Regions from separate parts of the Homo sapiens genome. Here all the other regions are linked to region 1. The links are contacts of gene promoters, found by promoter capture Hi-C in blood cells and fetal thymus (Javierre and others, 2016). All regions are on one chromosome and are shown on one strand. Each heading gives the region's core, a stretch centred on a gene start or on the middle of the fragment in contact. The rest is flanking DNA. Distances are from core to core; before and after follow the strand shown.

What was found. Contacts are between HindIII fragments. The CHiCAGO score rates a contact against its expected background, and 5 or more counts as called.
Region 2: a fragment that was not itself captured here is called in contact with the fragment with the promoter of DHX36 in region 1 in 1 of 17 cell types (fetal thymus); the score reaches 5.1 in fetal thymus.
Region 3: a fragment that was not itself captured here is called in contact with the fragment with the promoter of DHX36 in region 1 in 1 of 17 cell types (naive CD4 T cells); the score reaches 5.3 in naive CD4 T cells.

The regions. Positions count from the first base shown.
Region 1 is chr3:154,323,045-154,325,945 of GRCh38, forward strand. DHX36 (DEAH-box helicase 36) reads right to left here and starts at 1,443. Exons shown (of 25, transcript NM_020865.3): 1 at 1,130-1,443. The coding sequence starts at 1,372. RefSeq lists an enhancer at 1,336-1,630. The HindIII fragment of the contact is 15,842 bases long and covers 1-2,901 here.
Region 2 is chr3:155,552,279-155,555,227 of GRCh38, forward strand. It overlaps PLCH1 (phospholipase C eta 1), which reads right to left. Exons shown (of 23, transcript NM_014996.4): 9 at 1,798-1,918. Among named protein-coding and RNA genes, the nearest start is that of PLCH1-AS2, 68 kb to the left of the region's middle. The HindIII fragment of the contact is 8,542 bases long and covers 1-2,949 here.
Region 3 is chr3:155,724,491-155,727,473 of GRCh38, forward strand. All of the region lies in intron 1 of PLCH1 (phospholipase C eta 1), which reads right to left. Among named protein-coding and RNA genes, the nearest start is that of PLCH1, 19 kb to the right of the region's middle. The HindIII fragment of the contact is 1,428 bases long and covers 545-1,972 here.

The sequences.
Region 1 (2,901 bases), core at 193-2,692:
GTAGTCTAGGCCTGGCGTGGTGGCTCACGCCTGTAATCCCAGCACTTTGGGAGGCCGAGTTGGGTGGATCACCTGAGGTCAGGAGTTCGAGACCAACCTGGCCAACATGGTGAAACCCCGTCTCTACTAAAAATACAAAAATTAGCCGGAGGTGGTGGCGGACGCCTGTAATCCCAGCTACTCGGGAGGCTGAAGCAGGAGAATCGCTTGAACTTGGGAGGCGGAGGTTGCAGTGAGCTAAGATCGTGCCACTGCACTCCAGCCTGGGCGACAGAGTGAGACCCTGTCTTAAAAAAAAAAAAAGTTGCCTAAATGATGATCTAATTACACTCTATAATACATTTTATAAGGTGCTTTTAAAAAGTCACCAAAGGCCTATACTAAGAAAGTTCCTGCTTAATGATAAAAATTATTTTTTATTAGAATTTTATTTACTAGTCACTCGGAGAACTTTGTTTCCCTTACTACAGATCTTTAAGACACAAATCAACCTGACAATCACCTGAAGAGAGGAGAGTAAGCCAAATCATCTCTGGAGATTCCTTTCATTTTCCTTTTCAAAGAGAATCTGCTCATCAATAGAAATTTCTCCACCCCAACATAAAAAACAAAAACCTAGGTTTGCAGATAATTTTAACACTAATAATAAAAGCTGGACTATTTTTCTGAATGATCCACATCCAAAACAGTGTCTGCCTGCTTTTGTTCCGCGCAAACCTATCTCAAATGTAGAAAGGTCGCTATGTGCTTCTTCACCAGGCAAAGACCTTAAAGTGACAATTATTATTCTAAGGGAAAGGACGGCCAGAGATACGACAACGACACTCCTAATAAAGTTAATTTCGGTTGGAACGTGAACTTAACATTTGCTTTGTCACAGTTCTCAAGTCCTTTAAGCAAAGTATATATTCAGCCTGCATAAATCCTGCCTGTTTTTGGTCAGATGAGCATGGCTAATGTTACGCAGTACACCCGCTACGGGGAGCGCCAGCATAATATATTTGCGCCTCATTTACATTTCACAAAACACGTGCATCACTTAAGAAACAAAACCAAGAAAAAGGGGGCAGCGGGAGAGAGAAGAAAACCTGTGCTGCCTCATCCTCTCCACTACTGAATCCGAGATTACCTCTTGCCTCTCCGCTTCCTTGTTCTTCTGCCCCTGTTTTTTCGCGTACCACATGCCGATTTCGCGGCCTTTCAGGTGCCCGGGATGCCGGCCCCTGCCGCCTCGACCACCCCCTCCGCCGCCGCCGCCTCCTCCGGAGCCTCGGTTACCTCCATGACCCCCTGCTGGCCCCCCTCCATAGCCCCCACCGGAGCTGCGGGGACCCCCATCACGGCCCCAGTTCTGATGGTAGTCATAACTCATTGTCCTGGCAGACTACAACCCGTCAGAACCAGCAACCGCTGGAAATGGCGTCCGGGCCCGGAAGCCACTGTGCGCCCACTTCCGTTTTGCTTCCGTAGCACCGCACAAGAGGGCGGGCCATTTAGCGTCACAAGCAGTGGTTTCTGGTGACGTCACGGGAGGACGACCCCGGTGGTCTGGAGGGTGGCAGGGATCAGGTTCTGTCTGAGCCCCCGAGTTGTTTATCTTTGTACCTCTGGAGCAACAGCCAGCCAAAGGCTCGTAGATTTTCTTTCCCTAGGCCCAGCAAGTGAGCCAATAGCTTTTGGTTTTTACTTTCTTATTCCTGGTAAATCCGCAGTTTTTTTGCACTTAGGTCCTAGGGTAGTAAACGTTGATTGAAACAAAAGAACCCTTGGATCAATTCGCCGTCTTCTAAAGAAAAGTCTCTAAAAAATGAGTTCTTCTAGTCTTGAAAACAGCCTGACAACTATTCAAATATGTAATTTAAAATCCCCTTACCTCCTTGAAAGTGTTGTCACTATTTAGTACGTTTATCCAATAGTGTTAAGATGAGCGTGTCTACCCAAATTCGGTGCAGAGCTCTTAGGCAATGTAAATAAACTACTTTGAAGATTCATGTGTTCATATGAAGCCACATACTGTTTATTAACCAGCACACTGAGTGTTTTGTACAAGCTGTTCTTGAATAATCAAGTAATTGGGCCACACAGGCTTGGATGTACACCAGGAGATATCCAGCTCATGTTACAGTTAACTGATGTAAAGGTGCTGGGAATACTCACTGAACAAAGCAAGTATGGCATGAGCTTTTATTTGCCTACAGTCTTAAGGGAAAGACAAAGGCTATCTTTGTGCAGTGAATTAAGAAAGGGAAATGCTGTATGCCAGGAAGGGGTCTACAATACACCATTGTGGCCTAAAAATTATTTTGAGCAAAGACATTTGAGTTTCTGAAATCTACCTGTCTAAATGCAGAACCACACGGAGGAATTCAAATCAAGCTCCTCCCTGGGAGGGAAACCCAGGAAGACTGACTCTTATCACTGGAGGTTAGAAGCTGGCAACACACTTGAATAGACATTGTCACAAAGCTATCATATCTGGCATCTGTTTTAAGGTGTCATTTATTTTTACTAAAAGTCATTTGTTTTTTCCATACGTGCTGTTTTCCCCTTTCCTTCCCTTTATAAGATGGTAGATAAGTCAGAACTCTACCTCCCTGAATCACCTTTTTCTGTGAACTCTATTATGTATGTGGTTAAGTCTGTCTTTTCTTTTGCTAATCTGTTTTGTCACTTTAAGTCTGGGGCCTGCAAACACTGAATCTAAGAAAGTAGACAAAAAGTATTTCCTCCCTAAGAGCCAAGAGATACTACAGCAAAAGAATTTAATTTTGGAGTTAGGTGAGTTATGCAACAACTTTTGAGATAAGTAGACTTTTGCCAGACTAATGGGCAGAAGAAAAGTATGGCAGGTGAAAGGAACAATGTGTAAAGACAGATAATGATGTGAGACATCGGAGAACT
Region 2 (2,949 bases), core at 351-2,850, 1.2 Mb after region 1:
GAATACAAAATAATAAGAGATTGCTCATATTTTCAGTGAGTTCACAGTCTTACAGATGTAAAAGAAGGCAAGTAACCAACCAATTGCAAGAGGGTGCTATATGATATGACAGAAATATGTGCAGGGTGCTAAATACAGAGAAAATATGGAGAAAAAGAAGATTTAAATCAGCTGGTGGTATTAGTAACTTGTTGGAGGGACAATACTTAAACGGCCTTGTAGAATAAGCAACAATTAATCAGATAGACTAACGGGGAAGGTTGTTCCAGGCAGAGAGAACAGCATACGTAAGAGTGGGGAGTTGAGAAAGAGCCAGGCTCAATAGGGAAGCTGAAAGACAGTCATTGAAGGCAGAATCCTAAATCTCTGTGGAATAATGGTGGAAGATGATAGTGGAAGACAAGGGAGATGCCAGACCTTAAGGGATATGAAGACATGCCTGTGTATTGAGAGAGCTTCTGACAGGCTTTAAGACAAGAATTGAATCACCATGCTCATATTTCAGAAAGAAAATTATAGCACCAGTGTTGAGGATGAACCAAAGGGGAAATAAAAATGAACAGGAGGCAATGGAGTCAAAAGATAACTTGGGAAGTAGAATTGCCAAGAATTGGTTGAGTCTAGAATGACTCCCAGTTTCTGGCTGAGGCCAGTGCTGCCCCTAACTATTAATAAGAGGAAATGGAGCGAGAATCAAGAGGAAGTTTGGCAGAATGAGATGCTGAGTTCCCCTTGGGGAGTAAGCTCCTTAATGGCAGGAGTCTTATCTTCTGCTCACTGTTGTGGCTCCCCACACCTATGGGATACTCAGATGAATATTCACTGAGGATTTTTATTTTTATTTTTATTTTTCTGAGATGGAGTCTCACTCTGTCACCCAGGCTGGAGTGCAGTGGTGCAATCTCAGCTCACTACAACCTCCACCTTCTGGGTTCAAGCAAATCTCATGCCTCAGCCTCCCAAGTAGCTGGGATTACAGATGTGTACCACTACATCCACCTAATACTTGTATTTTTTTAGTAGAGACAGGGCTTCGCCATGTTGACCAGGCTGGTCTCAAACTCCTGGCCTCACGTGATCCACCCTCCTCAGCCTCCCAAAGTGCTACAGGAGCCACCGTGCCCGGCCTCACTGAGTATGTTTCAACATGGGCCTAGAACTTGAGGGGAAAGTTCTGGACATAGAATTTGATAAATATCCAGAAAGTGATCTAGGGCAAAACCTTAGAAAACAGTTAACCATTAGAGGAATGAGGAAATAGATTAACAGAAGACTGCAGTACAAAAAAAAGAGATTGAGAAGCAACGAGAGCAATGGAGGGGAGAATGATATAATGGAAACCAAAAAAGGCAAGTAGTGGGGAGGAAATATTCAACACTGTCAAATGACAAGGAGAGGGTCAAGTAACATAAGGACTCCAGACACCTCAGTGTATAGATAAGACATCCATCATGATCAGAACCCACTAATTATGTACACAGTAACCTATGTTTCCAGATTTTATGGACACTCTACACCCTGGATTTAGAAATTTAGAGGTCACTATTTGCAAGAATGTCTTTAAGGAGGCATATTGAGAAAGAATGGGACAAGGAATAAATGCAGCATGAGAAAGTACAAACGGGAAGGCCACATTATTTGTTCACAATGTTTTGCTGAGAAGGAGGGAGAAAACTAGTCTAGCAAAGAGGGCAGTGTAGAGTCCAAGGAAGAGGATGTGGTTTTGTAGCTACGTTACATCAGGCAATGCTCCATGCGGGAGGCTACCGCTTAGCTCACAGGTGCTGCTTTACTTACTCATTCTTCACAAAGGCATGCTTGTTGATGGTCTCCACAACATCTCTGAAGAGAATTTTTGAAGTGAGAGTGTAACCATGATGTACTACTGGCTCTCCATCTGGGCCATCCCAACAGTCAACTGCCAAAAACAGAACTTTATATCAACAACCCAAAGTCTCTGGTGTTTATTAATATTTCTGGAAATACCAGACACATATTAAGTCCATTATCTGAAATTATACCCATTTCAATCCTGACAAAGACGTGACACAGACACAGAAATCGGTGTTCTGGCATATTTATCAGAACAAGGAATTAAAGAATTGCTTTTCCTCAAGACACAATGATTTGGTTTTGAGTGTGGTTAAAAAGATGTCATATTCTTAAACAGCTCAGAATTCACCAAAAACTCATTAGAACTTATCTAAATCCAGTCAAGTGTGCCCAAGGATAGGGAGATTTCTTGAAAGGTCATTTACCCAATTTCACTTCTTCTTCTTCTTCTTCTTCAGGTTATGAAGGTCTTTTAGAAAGTCACAGTGTCCTTCCCAAATCAATAATATAGTTTTCATTATTGTTCACTTAGGCTCACAATGTTTTCATTAGATTGATTTTCATTTCATTAATACTACAGTAGTTATAAAATAACATCAACTTCCTAAGTTCAAATCCTCGAGCGCTGCCAAGATTTATGTGAATTTGGGCAAATAACTTAATCATTTGAAGACTTGTTTTCCCCATCTAGAAAAGGAGAGTAATAGCACTTACATCATAAATTTGAGTGACAGTTAAATATATGTAAAGTAGCTTGTAACACTGCATGGCATATAGTAACTATGATTGTTATTGATACTATTAATATTGCTCTCTACCCACACAATCTCATTAGCTCTCAGCTGGAGAAAGACAGTAGGTTTTTCACCATGCCCCTCTGACTAAGAATTTGCTTTCTCTTGTTTTTATATTTTGCCCCCAGGCTAATTCCTCAAAACACTACTTTCACCTCATTGCTCCTTTGCTCAAAAGCCTACTTGGTGCATAGCACAGCATCCAACACAGAGAAGTAAGTAGTCTGTAAATATATGCTAAATGGATTAATAAATATCTTACCTCATACAATAGCTCTTGCGTGCTTACCTCCAACGCCCCTGTCTCTTGTGCTAGAGCCTG
Region 3 (2,983 bases), core at 9-2,508, 1.4 Mb after region 1:
AATGTCCCTCTTTGTCTTTTTTAACTGCTGTTGCTTTAAAGTTTGTTTTATCTGATATAACAGTAGCTACTCTTGCTTGCTTTTGGTGTCCATTTGCATAGAATATCTTTTTTCACCCCTTTACCTTAAGTTTATGTGAGTCGTTCTGTGTTAGGTGAGTCTCTTGAAGGCAGGGGATAGTTAGTTTGTGAATTCTTATCATTCTGCCATTCTGTATATTTTAAGTGGAGCATTTAGGCCATTTACATTCAATGTTAGTATTGAGATGTGAGGTACTATTCTATTCATCATGGTATTTGTTGCCTGAATACCTTGGGGGGTTTTGTGTGTGTGTGTGTGTGTGTGTGTGTGTGTGTGTGTGTGTAATTGTTATATATGTCCTGTGAGATTTATGCTTTAAGAAGGTTCTGTTTTGCTGTATTTCAAGGATTTGTTTCAAAATTTAGAGCTCCTTTTAGCAGTTCTTACTGTGCAGGCTTAGTAGTTGTGAATTTTCTCAGCATTTGTTTGTCTGAAAAAGACTGTATCTTTCCTTCATTTATGAAGCTTAGTTTTGCTGGATACAAAATTCTTGCCTGATAATTGTTTTGTTTAAGGAGGCTAAAGATAGGACCCCAATCCCTTCTAGCTTATAGGGTTTCTGCTGACAAATCTGCTGTTAATCTGATAGGCTTTGACCCCAATCCCTTCTAGTTTATAGGGTTTCTGCTGAGAAATCTACTGTTAATCTGATAGGCTTTTCTTTATAGGCTACCTGAAGATGCATATGTAAGTATTTTATCTTTCTGATAAGTTGAGACTTTTTAACCAATTGACCCTCTTTATCTCTAAAAATGCTTTTTGCAATTTAAAGCCTATTTTGTCTTATGTCAAAATTGCCAGCTTCTTTTGGTTTTTAGTCACCTATTTCCCTTTCTATTATTTTACTTTTAAACATTCTGTATCCTTATATTTTAGACACTTTTTTTTTTTTTTGAGACAGAGTCTCACTCTGTCCCCCAGGCTGGAGTACGATAGTGCGATCTCAGCTCACTGCAACCTCCACCTCCCACGTTCAAGCAATTCTCCTACCTCATCCTCCAGAGTAGCTGGGATTACAGATGCATGCCCGGCTAATTTTTGTATTTTTAGTAGAGACGGGGTTTCACCACGTTGGCCGGGCTGGTCTTGAACTCCTGACCTCAGGTGATCTGCCCGCCTCAGCCTCCCAAAGTACAGGGATTACAGGCATGAGACATCACTCCCAGCCTGGACATTTCTGTTATAAGTAGCATATAGCTGAATTCTTCATCCACTCTAACAATCTTTGGTTCCTTTAGATTATGATTAGTGATACAATGGAATTTATTTCAACATCATATTTTGTGCTTGCTATTTGTCTTGCCTATTCTCTACTTTTTTCTCAGCTCCCTTGATTTCCTTGAGGTTATTTTTCTCATTTAATTTTTCTCCATTAGCTAGGAAGTTATCCATTATTTTCCTAATTTTTAGTAGTTGCCCTAGACATTTTAACATGCATACTTTGCTTATCGAAGTCTCAATAATCATTATCTCTAATCTCTTCCCAAACTATACAAGAATTTTAGAGCACATTAACTCCTTTTGCTTCTCCAACTTATGTTACTAGTTCCCACTGAATATATCATTATTACCTTATATAGTCAATACGTGTTTTAACTTAAACTTTCTTTGGTCTTCATTATTTCTTGTTTTTAAGATCCTTTATCTGGAAATAATTTTCTTCTACCTCAAGTGTTACTCTTTTAGTGAAGATCTGCTGGAACAAATTCTTTAGGTTTTTGTGCATCTGAAAGGCCTTTATTGTGTCCCTGTTTTTTAAAGATTGTTTTTTAATGAAAATAGAATCCTAGGGTGACAGTTAATTTCCCACAGTACATGAAAGATAATATTCTATTGTCTTCTGGCTTCTATTGTTACATTGTCAGGATAATTTGTCATGTCTTTGAAGCTAAGCTTAAGATCCTCTCTTTATCTTTTGTGTTCTGCAGTTTAATTATATTTTGTCTATGTGTGGATTTCTTTTTACTTACTCTGTCTGGAATTCATATGACTTCATCAATATGTCAAGTGATGCTTTTTATTGATCCTTGAAAATTCTCAGCCATTATCTCTTTAAATGTTGCCTTTTCCAATTTTCTTTCCTCTCTTCTTTTTCTGTAGCAATAATTAAAATTTTGTTCAGATTCTTTTTTTTTTTTTTTGAGACGGGGTCTTCACCCTGTTGCCCAGGCTGGAGTGCAGTGGTGTGATCTTGGCTCACTGCAACCTCTGCCTCCCAGGTTCAAGTGATTCTCCTGCCTCAGCCTCCTGAGTAGCTGGGATTACAGGCACGCGCCATCCCACCCGGCTAATTTTTTTTCTTTTTTCTTTTTTTTTTTTTTTGTATTTTTAGTAGAGACACGGTTTCACCACGTTGGCCAGGATGGTCTCGAACTCCTGACACTGTAAGCCACCTGCCTCAGCCTCTCAAAGTGCTGGGAATACAGGCGTGAGCCACTGCGCCCGGCTCAAATTCTTTTGATTAATTTTCTATGCAGCTTGGATTTACCTATTCATAAATTCATTCACTCTCTTATTTTTAATTATTACATTTTTATTTTTTCAAGTTGTATTTGGTTATTTTTTAAATGAGCTTGGAAAAATAAAAATAAAAAAATAAAATGAGCTTGGTTAGTCCTCATAGTTTCTTATCTTAAGCTCGTATCTTGTGTTTAGGGGAGGTTTTTTATTCTGTTTTTGGTTTTACAGACATGCTCATTTGCCTTTTAATTTCATTGGCAGAAATTCTCTGTAGTCTGAGATAAAAAATAGATTTCACCAAAAAAGGAAAAAAAAATGGGTTCTGCTCAGTACCAGCAACACTTCCAATGTACGAAATCCTTTTTTTTTTTTTTGAGATGGAGTCTCATTCTTTTGTCCAGGCTGGAGTGCAGTGGCACAATCTCGGCTCACTGCAACCTCC